Linked DNA regions of Homo sapiens: all the other regions are linked to region 1. Evidence: promoter capture Hi-C in 16 types of primary human blood cells and fetal thymus (Javierre and others, 2016). All regions are on one chromosome and are shown on one strand. Each heading gives the region's core, a stretch centred on a gene start or on the middle of the fragment in contact. The rest is flanking DNA. Distances are from core to core; before and after follow the strand shown. Region 1 holds the start of ZNF543 (zinc finger protein 543). Region 2 holds the start of ZNF135 (zinc finger protein 135). Region 3 holds the start of ZNF417 (zinc finger protein 417).

The links. Contacts are between HindIII fragments. The CHiCAGO score rates a contact against its expected background, and 5 or more counts as called.
Region 2: a contact is called between the fragment with the promoter of ZNF135 here and the fragment with the promoter of ZNF543 in region 1, in 4 of 17 cell types (neutrophils, total CD4 T cells, naive CD8 T cells and 1 more). The highest score is 7.5, in neutrophils.
Region 3: the fragment with the promoter of ZNF417 here is called in contact with the fragment with the promoter of ZNF543 in region 1 in 5 of 17 cell types (fetal thymus, total CD4 T cells, naive CD8 T cells and 2 more); the score reaches 8.2 in fetal thymus.

What each region holds. Positions count from the first base shown.
Region 1 is chr19:57,318,643-57,322,176 of GRCh38, forward strand. ZNF543 (zinc finger protein 543) reads left to right here and starts at 1,830. Exons shown (of 4, transcript NM_213598.4): 1 at 1,830-2,229. The coding sequence starts at 2,212. RefSeq lists enhancers at 206-723, 1,649-1,768, 1,779-1,928. The HindIII fragment of the contact is 3,609 bases long and covers 1-2,817 here.
Region 2 is chr19:58,057,472-58,061,005 of GRCh38, forward strand. It overlaps ZNF135 (zinc finger protein 135), which reads left to right and starts at 1,811. Exons shown (of 5, transcript NM_001289401.2): 1 at 1,811-1,839; 2 at 2,498-2,564. The coding sequence starts at 2,532. The HindIII fragment of the contact is 3,956 bases long and covers 809-3,534 here.
Region 3 is chr19:57,915,342-57,918,875 of GRCh38, forward strand. It overlaps ZNF417 (zinc finger protein 417), which reads right to left and starts at 1,251. Exons shown (of 3, transcript NM_152475.3): 1 at 1,038-1,251. The coding sequence starts at 1,070. RefSeq lists enhancers at 1,008-1,297, 1,316-2,171, 1,568-1,627. The HindIII fragment of the contact is 13,199 bases long and covers 1-3,534 here.

The DNA.
Region 1 (3,534 bases), core at 580-3,079:
CCAAGGCTCAGCTGAGCACTCCTGAGCTGCATGCTGTAAACCTGGGTAGAGGGGATTAAGCCCTTGGCTTTGTTCTCTGGCTGCTTGGGGTGAAGCACCTGCTGTGCTAGAGGGGCTGAGGTGTTCTCAGTCTGCTGGCAAAAGTGCTCCAGCAGAGCATTGTGGGGACTGCAGAGAGTGCACTGTGGCTGGGGGATGGGGAGGCCACAGGCAAGTGTGCACCACTTGGGCAGTAGAGGGGGGCTACCTGCAAGTGTGTGCCAATGGGGTGGCATGGCTGTGGTGTAGGTGAGTGAAGCACCATGGTGTGAGGGGTCCCCGGCAATGCCTCCCACCTTTTTGAATCTCCAGTGTCTATTATTCCACTATTTCCATATGTATACATCATTTAGCTACCACTTATAAGTGATAACATGCAGTATTTGACTTTGTTTCTGAATTATTTCACTTAAGAGAATGGCCCCCCAGTTCCAGCCATATTGCTGCAAAAGCCATGATTTTTTTTAATGACTGAGTAGTATTCCATGGAGTGTATATATATATACACATATATACATATACATACATATATATACATATATATACATATACATACATATATACATATATACATATACATACATATATATACATATATATACATATACATACATATATATACATATATATACATATACATACATATATATACATATACATACATATATATACATATATATACATATACATACATATATACACATATATATACATATACATACATATATACATATATATACATATACATACATATATACATATATATACATATACATACATATATACATATACATACATATATATACATATATACATATACATACATATATATACATATATATATCGCATTTTCTTTATCCAATCATCTGTCGATGGACACTTAGGTTGATTCTATGACTTTGCTACTGTGAATAGTGCTACAGTAAGCATGTAAGTACAGGCATCTTTTTGATATAGTGGTTTATTTTCCTTTAAGTAAATACCCAATAGTGGAATTGCCAGATCAAATGGCAGTTCTATTTTCAGTTCTTTGATAAATCTCCATACTGTTTTCCATAGAGGTTGTACTAATTTACATTCCCACCAATAGCATATAAGCGTTCCCTTTTCCTTGCATCCATACCAACATCTGTTGGTTTTTTACTTTTTAATAATAGCCACTCTGACCAGTATAAGATGGCATCTCAGTGTGTTTATGTGTGTGTGTTTTCTCTCATCATATCTCATTATAACCTCAAATTCCTGGGCTCAAGCAATCCTCTTGCTTCAGCCTCCCAGTGTCTAGGACTACAGGTGTACACCATCATGCCTTGCTCTTTTTTTTTTTTTTGGTAGATATAACATCTTACTATATTGCCCAGGGTGGTCTCAAACTCCTGACCTCAGCAATTATTTTGTGTTGGCATCCCAAAGCACTGAGATTACATATATGAGCTACCTCCCTAAAATAAGGGAAGTGAGCCAGAAGCTCTGGGCCCAGCCCATGATCTCAATCGGGGCGAATATCCCCGCCTCCTGACCTCAATTTTCCTAAGCTAGAAAGGACCTTTCGACCCTCCGACTTGTGCCCATAGTAAAGCGGCGGCCCTAAGACGACGCGGGGGTCCTTGTGCGCACTTAAATGGAGTCGGCTGCGCTTGGTGAGTTCCCACACCCGGTAGATGTGAGGGAAAAACTGCCTTACTCAGAAGGCACCACCCCTTGCGTCGGCCGCGGACTCTAGGCCAATGACGGGCCAGGACACGGGCGATTTCTGCGGGCCAGGGCGGCGGAGGTGGGACTTCCGCTTCGTCGCGTGACGTCATCTCCGTGAGCAGGATTGGCCCTGGAACAGTGTGGGGCCTGGACCGCTGGGTAGGCGCGTCCAGCGGCCTGAGCAGGGGAGGGTAATGAGGCTGTTACGCGCCTTCTCCGCATCTTGGCGGGAGCCTGACGCCCCGCTTCTTCCCTAACGGGGTGTTCCACCGGCGCCTGCCGAGGCCTAGGCCTCCGCAGCCGCCCTCCGTCTCCTCAGCCCCGACGCTGCGCCCGCTTTGTGCGCATTTTTCTCTGGGGAAACTGAGGCTCCGAGTGCGAAAGTCAGCCGAGGTCGCCCCGCCCAGGACAGAGAAGGGCTGGGGGTCGGCTGAGCCGCGGCATTCCCGGGCCCCGCTAGGGCTGCAGGGTCTCAGGATGGCAGCCTCGGCGCAGGTGAGTGGACGAGGTTTTGGCCTTGCTGCTGCTCTGCTACTTCTGGAGGCCTCGTGGGCAGGCAGAAGCCAAGACAGCCACAGGATGTTTCTTTGTCGCCGTCGTTTATTTAAGAGAAGTGGCCGTAGCTTGTCATTTCCTTTATCCGCAGTCCTGCAATAGTGTTGGCCTCCGACAGGTGCTCAGTCCTTGGTAGAAGGATGAATGATGCTTCCTTCATGGATCTCATCACACTTCCCTTAAATCCAACCTCCTCTGTTGCCTGCCAGCCCCTACCCCATCCACCTGGCCAACCACCCCTGACCTTGTCTCTCCATTTTTCCCTTGTCCTTTGCTCTTCAGAGCCACCAACCTGACCGTGCAGTCTTCTTCCTTTTTCCAGGCTTTCTCTTTGCACTTCCCTTTGCCTTGAACACTGCCCCTATAACTTCGCAGGGCCTCCCTCTCATATCTTTCTGGCCTCTGTCCAGATGTCACCTATTTGGAGGTGGCTTTCTTGGCAATTCCGGCTAAAGTGGCGCCTTACGCACTTGCCCATTTTTGGCAATGTGTGGCATTTTTGTATAGAGAATCTGACGATATTAAAGAAGCTTGCCGTTTGAGTTGGTCTAGGATGTTATGTGAACAAAGAGAAACGAAATAATTGCAAAGAGTGACAGCTGATCATAAAGAGTCCTTGCTGTGGGCTGATTGGCAGGCATTATTTAACCCTCAGCTCCTTTAATCCTGAACTCCTTAGAATTAGGTTCTCTTGTCCTCACTGTTTTACACAAGAGCAGCTGGAGGCTCACATAGGTTCAATTACCTGCCTTACATCACTGTAGCTCTTAAGTATCAGAAACTAACAACTGGTGTGTCTACCATCACAGCCTGTGTTTTTACCCTCTTCTTTGCCCGCAATGGTTAGGGAGGCCTGGGGGTGACACCTAAAGTAAACTTTGCAAGTTGAGCAGGCTTCCTTCTAGCAGGTGGTCTTGGACATGAGGAGTCATGGCATTTCATGCTGGTGGAACTGTGTGGACTAAAAAAAAATGGTTTATTGGTTGTTTAAGGAGTCCGCAGGGGACCCGTGTGGCTTCCACAGTGGTTTCCTGAGTGGTTTTCTCCTATACCAGCTGACACATGTCTTGGGACACAAGATTTTGTGGTCTTTTGCTAGATGTGCCTTCCTCCTTAGCCAGGACAGACATAGCCAGTCAGGGGCCCATGTTCTCATGGCTACAACCTGCTGTGTCCTCTGTGACTCTTGTTCCTTGCTCCTGAAGTATCCTGACCTCAGGGATACTTGTTGGTAGGACTCAAACA
Region 2 (3,534 bases), core at 561-3,060, 740 kb after region 1:
AGGCAACCAGCAATGCTCTGCTTGGAGATTCGTACAGGAAGCCAAGAAGGAGCTGAGAGGGGCCCAGCCAGTGGTTACAAGAGACAGCAGGAGGTTCAGACCACAGCAAGGGTGGCACTGGAGTAGCCTCCAGCTCATCTTATTTGACTGGTAGAGTGTTATTAAAGCCTTTGAAATCCCTACCAGCTTTTAAAAATCAAGAGATTTCACATAGAAATCCTGATCTCTGGGTTCTTTAGAGAAATCCAGACCTGGGACGCTGGGCTTGCCAGTCCGCACGACCCCACTTGGCTGGAGCCAAGCAGCACTTGCCCCTGTAGAAAGAGCCCGCCCCTGCAAAAGCATGTACGGTTTAGAAACCTGGCTGAGAAAAACAGAGGATCAGAAGGTCTGAGGGAGGAAACAGAGGGGCAAGTTTGAGGGAGCTGGGCAGGGCCGCCTGGCCACCATCAGGGCTGAGCAGGCTCAGTGTGGCACCACTGACAGCTTCTCACCAGGACTATCAGACCGCTTGGGAAAAAGACTTCACCATGAGTTGTGTGTTCATACCTTTTGATCCAGTAAAAGGAAACGGTTGGGGGTGGGGGTGGGGGGCAAGAGTATACATTTTGTGAAAGAAAAAATACACAAAAAGATGTTTTGTGGCATTTGGGTTTGTGAGTTCGAGAACTGAAAAACGGCATTTTATGTATAATGGAAAGCCTCTTTACTGCTGTAGAGTGAAAAGCAGGCTGGCTTTCAGTGCGACGGTCACAAATGTGGGGCTTTACAGTACTTGGAATGTACAGGACGCCCTTAAAAGCCAAGAAGCTTGCCTTTGCTTTGTTTACATCAGTGCATTATGATTTTGAGCCATTATATCTCTTCATAATTGCCACTGTTTTAGGGCTTATGAAATTTAAAGTCTTAACTTGTGTGTTAACCAGCCAAATCTTTGCAAGTGTCTGTGTGTGGTACGAGAATTCGTATTGTGTTCTCTGCTGTTTTCAGAGTTGTTTCAGTCAAAGAAAAAAAAATGCCCGTCTTAAAACTTTTCCTCTGCTTCAAATACAGCTCCCAAGCCCAGGCTGATTGGAATTAATCTGTCCTCCCTTAAAAGGGCAAAAGCACAAGGCTCAGCCCTGGCTTTCCCAGCTCCTCTGGTCTCGCTGCTCCACGGACGTGTGACGTACGCTGGTGAAACGAAGCCCGCTTGAATGGGGGCTTCACTATTGTGTGCTGCTGAACCTAGGCCTAGCGCCTGGCAGGCTTTGGTGAATGTTCAGAAAATGACAATTCATTTCGTGTCAGCGAGGGCACACCAGCTTTGAATATTTTGCTGCTGTTCAAATGCACAATTTTGACAATTACCTAGCAATGTCCAAAGTCGTCATAATTGTTAGTGTCTTGCACGTGATGTTCCTTATAACCATGTAATAAATACAGTGTGAAGTCTCCATGGCTGCCTCAGTGTGGAAAATGCAAAGACTCCCGTGTGTGCGATCTTGGTGAATGTTTTGGTTGAAAGTATGTGTTTTGAAAAAATCATTGCTTTGTTTGCAGCAGTAAAACTGACGGTAGAGTTTCCAACACGAAAGCCCGTGTGGTCGCGCCGGGAGCTCACGGCGTTCCAAGCGGCACTTATCCCGCGTTGATGCCCAGGCACCCCGCGCGCCCTGTTTCACCAGGCCCAGTCACTCCAGCTCCAGCAGCACTGAGAGCTCACGAACGCCAAGGGCGAGAGCGAGGTGGGGGAGGGCGGCCGGAAATGCGCGCGCGGCTCTCTGGGAAATGGAGTTAGGCTCGCGCCGGCGCAGTGTCGGCTGCCGGTGCCGCGGCCTTTGTCTCGCAGTCAGGAGGGTGAGCTAGGCCGGCGAGGAGGGGGAGGGGAGGCCAGGCCGGGCCGGGCCGGGCCGGGTGCGGGGGGTCCGGGGATCTTCCTGAGGCCCTGGCGGGGCGAGTTTCCAGCAGCGCGCGTCTGTGTGGAGTCCGTTTTGCTGCCCGGGGCCTGGGGAAGGCCGTTTCGGGGCTGGCGGGGGCAGGCTTTGCGGGGCATCCCTAGTCTGAGAGGAGGGCGGGGCCCAACGCCCAGCTGGACAGGAGCTGCTCCGACGGCCCCTGAGGGAACGCGCGCCCCGCCCCTGGCCCCACCTCTGCCCCACACCGGGCACTGGGCCGCCACCTTTGTTGATGGAAGAGAGAAACTGAGGCATAGTGCCCAGGGCCAGGGGACCGCAACCACCCGGCCCTTGTCACTGTAGCGTTAAGGCTCAGAGTCTGCGCAGCAGATATGTGTCCGCACCCGCCAGGCCTTCAGCTTCCCTCAGACAGGCGGGAAAACCCTAGGCTGCCCTTCTCCGAGCGGAGGGCCGCCCCACACACAGCAGGCGCTTAAACGGGTACGCGGGGCCCTGGACGGCTCTCCGCGGAGCTCCCCAGGCTCTGGCGCAGTTCCCCGGCTTGGGGACCTGAGCACCGCCTCTGCCTGCCCCAGCTGCTCACCTCCCCTTTCCCACAGAGCAGGGCCAGCCGTTCCTGCCAGAAGCCAGGGCATGACCCCTGGGGTGCGCGTCTCCACAGACCCGGTGAGAATCTCGGCCTCCTTGCGCGTGTCCTCCACCTCGTGCCCGGCCTCCTCGCGCGCGGCCTTCTCACGCCCGGCCTCCTCTTTGCACCCCGTCCCTACTCGCGCTCAGCCTCCTCCTTGTGCCCGGCCCCTACTTGCGTGCCCGGCCCCTACTCGTGCCCGGCCTCTACTCGCACAACTGGCCTCTACTCGCGCACCTGGCCTCTACTGGTGCCCGGCCTCTACTCGTGCCCGGCCTCTATTTGCACATCTAGCCTCTACTCGTGTCCGGCCTCTACCTGCACACCCGGCCTCCTAAAGTCCGCGCCAAGCTCCCCAACCACAGCCTGCCTCTGAAAGGACCGCCCACGCCGCGCTGGAGGTCAGCGGGCACGGGTCCCTGTCTGAGTGGGCTTTATGTTTGTGCGGCCGTCATTGCATACCTGAGGCTGGGTGATGTCAGAAAATTGTAGGTGCCCCGGCTCTGCAGTCTGAAGTTGAAGGCCTTAGCATGCTCTGCGCTCCAAGATGGCGCATCGAGTGCCGCTTCCTCAGACGTCATGGAGGCCAAGGGGGCGGAACTCGCCTTTTTATGATGACATTAACCCCACCCATAAGCCACCAGAAGAAACCAGCCTCCTGTAGGAATGTCAGAAAACCCGTACAAGGGGACTGGTGCGATGGCTTGTAGCTGTAATCCCAGCTATGGGGGAGGATTGCTTGAGCCCAGGAGTTGGAGGCTGCAGTGAGCCATGATGTGCCACTGCACTCCAGCCTGAATGACAGTGGAACCCTGTCTCTAAAAAATTAAAAAACAAACCCAGATTTGGCCGGGCGCGGTGGCTCGCACCTGTAATCCCAGCACTTTGGGAGGCCGAGGTGGGCGGATCACGAGGTCAGGAGATCGAGACCATCCTGGCGAACACGGTGAAACCCCGTCTCTACTAAAAATACAAAAAAAAATTAGCCGGGGGGGTGGCGGGCGCCTG
Region 3 (3,534 bases), core at 1-2,500, 600 kb after region 1:
AATGCACAGCCCTCGGCCTGCTTACTCTTCCAGGGAGAGCTCCACCTCACACTTTGTTCCAGACAGGTTCCATCCTCCCGGCTCCGTCCATCTCCAGGCCATTGCCTGCGCCCCTCCCTGTGCTTGTTGCTCTCCCCACCGCATCCCACGGGTGTCAGAAACAGGTGAAACCGTCTTTGCAAAATTATAACTGAGGAAATTATGACAGTGAAAGAAATCAGACCTTACTGACTCCGTCTTGCTTCCAACCTTTCAGCTGTCCTTGTTCATTCCTGGGTATAGGCTGAATTAACTTAGGGAAGGAATTCAGTTCATGGTTTCACTCTGAAACAAAATTGATAATAGCCCTTTCCTGAAAAGACCCCCTTCTTGCCTGGAGAACAGCCTGCCTTTGCAGGACTAACGAATTAGCTACAAGGTTAGAAATTACCGTTTAGGGGTCATGCAGCTTCTGACTCCAAGAGTCTGAACCTCCCCAAGTTGCTCCTGAAGATAAATCACTATTGTAAAACCTAAGATCAGTGCTTGAGGTATTTTGCAGATCCTGCACTGGATGGATCAGCTGACAACACACAGACCGGTAATCTGGGTCAATCAGTTCTGCCATCCCACCCAGAACAGAAAACAGCATGAAAAACTCACTTTAACCCTCTATGAATCCATCTCAGGTCCCAACCCTTACCGCCAAATTAATGTTGAAAACTCTGATCCCGGAATGCTAATGGAGACTGATTTGAGTAATAATAAAACTCCTGTCTCCAGAACAGCCTGACGGCTCTGCGTCAATTACTATTTCTCCATCGCAATTCTCCAGTCTTCATAAATCGGCTCTGTCTAGGCAGCTGGCAAGGTGAACCCACTGGACAGTTACACAGGGACCCCCACTGGACAGTTACACAGGGACCCCTCCTGCGAGCGCCTCAGTGTTCCTACGCCGGGTACCGGCTACAGACCCGTGAGCAGGAGCCGCTCCCTCGCTGGTTTAGGACCTGGGTGACGATGGGGTGACCTGAGGGCACAGAAGGCGCCACAATTACCTGAGTCGGGCGCCTCGGCGCAGCCGCTGCCATCGGACTACTTGGGGAAGCACGGCCCGGGAGCAGTGGTCGCCGTCACGGGGCTGCAGAGCCGCCTCTGGGCACCGAGGACGATTCCTCTCCACCTTCTAGGTTCAGTCACCGCGGTCCCCCCCCAGCACTCAGGGGCCACAAACTGGGGAAACACCCGCGTCACCGATACACAGCCGCTACTAGAGACCCCGGAAGTCTCAGCCTTACGTTACGTGCACACGTGGAAATGCCTTCTTTCCGAGTGCTCATTGGCTCTGACCGGCTGTCGTTTAACGCAGAGCTTTCTGGGTAATGTAGTTCCCCACTTTCCATGGCGCTAAAAAGAGCGATACCCAGAGTCCATCTGCAGGAAAAGCCCGCCATCAGGTCAGGGGTTCTCCTTAAAAAGCGCACCCTTCTGGCCGGGCGCAGTGGCTCAAGCCTGTAATCTCAGCACTTTGGAAGGCGGAGGTGGGCGGATCACGAGGTCAGGAGATGGAGACCATCCTGGCTAACACGGTGAAACCCCGTGTCTACTAAAAATTCAAAAAAAAAAAAAGTTAGCTGGGTGTGGTGGCGGGCGCCTACAGTCACAGCTACTCTGGAGGCTGAGGCTGGAGGAGAATGGCGTGAACCTGGGAGGCAGAGCTTGCAGTGAGCTGGGATCGCGCCACTGCCCTCCAGCCTGCGCGACAGAGCAAGACTCTGTCTCAAAAAAAAAAAAAAAAAAAAAAAAAAAAAAAAAAAAAAAGGCGCCTTTCTAGGGCAGAGGAGGGGTCTCACCTAGCCTTAGAAGCCGTATTGAGATTCCTGGAGACTAGTGTCTGTAACTAATCACTCAAGAATCTGGAAAAATACTGTTTCAGATTTCGGGGAGCGCAAGGTAAATAATAGGGAGCTCAAGCTAAAACTATTATTTAGGATTCTCCTAAAGGCTAAAAATCCAAATTACCACACCGTTTGAAACAGTCGTTCAGTCGCAAAATACCTGCACTGGAAGCAGAGGCTGATAAGCGTTGTTGTGTTATAATGTGTCTGAAGGCCCTCAGAAGCCTTAGAGTGCCTAAGGCAAATGAAGGAAGTTAGGGATGTGCTCCCCTATAGCAGGAGTGCAAAGCTGAATCTCTGTGATTCCTACAGAAAACAACTCTCCTGCTGATAGAATCTGTGAAAGGAAAATCTTGTGGCCTCAAAATTACTAAGCTAAAGGGAAAAGTCAATCTGGGAACTGCTCAGGGCAAACTTGCCTCCCATTCTATTCAAAGTCTTCCCTCTCCTCACTGAGATAGATGCCTATTCTGATTGCCTCCTTTGGAAGGACTTATCAGAAATTAAAAAGAATCCAACTATTTGTCTCTCTACCTGTCTACCTGTGACCTGGAAGTCCCCTCCCTGCTTCGAGTTGTTCCCGCCTTTCTGGTCGGAACCAATGTACTTCTTACATATATTCACTGATGTCTCATGTCCCCCTAAAATGTATAAAACCAACCTGTACCCCAACCACCATGGGCACATGTCGTCAGGACTTCCTGAGGCTGTGTCACGGGCATGTGTCCTCAACCTTGGCAAAATAAACTTTTTCTTTTATGAGACGGAGTCTCGCTCTTTGGTCAGGCTCGAGTGCAGTGGCGCGATCTCGGCTCACTGCAACCTCTGCCTCTCGGGTTCAAGTGATTCTCCTGCCTTAGCCTCCCGAGTAGCTGGGAGTACAGGCACGTGGCATCACGCCAATTTTTGTAGTTTCAGTACAGACGGGGGTTTCACCTTGTTTAGGATGGTCTCGATCTCCCTCGTGATCTGCCTGCCTCACCCTCCAATGTGTTGGGGTTACAGGCATGAGTCACCACACCTGGCCAGCAAAATAAACTATTTAAATTAACTGAGACCTGTCTCAAATTTGGGGGGTTCACAAATCATTATAGCGTTCAATTAATTGAACAACACTTTTTCCCACTTAGTATCCTTTACTTGATATTCTAACTTACATTCAACTCCTTTTAGTAATTTGACATCAGTCTTATAAAGAACAATAAGGCTGGGCACGGTGGCTCACGCCTGTAATCCTCGCACTTTGGGAGGCCGAGGCAGGCGGATCACCAGTTCAGGAGATCGAGACCATCCTGGCTAACATGGTGAAACCCCGTCTCTACTAAAAATACAAAAAAAAAATTAGCCGGGTGTGGTGGCACACGCCTGTAGTCCCAGCTACTCGGGAGGCTAAGGCAGGAGAATCACTTGAACCCGGGAGGCAGAGGTTGCTGTGAGCTGAGATCGCGCCATTGCACTGCAGCCTGGCGACAGAGCGAGACTCTCTCAAACAAAGAAACAAAAAACAATAAAATAAATGGTATCTTGGTAGTAGTGATGGCTACAGTCTGTAAAAAGTAAAGTACAGGTTCCTCTTCAAAGACTTTCCTCCCATCTAATTAGGAATAAATAGTAACTTCTCTTAGAAGCAAAATTTATTCAAAGACCTGTGCTAACA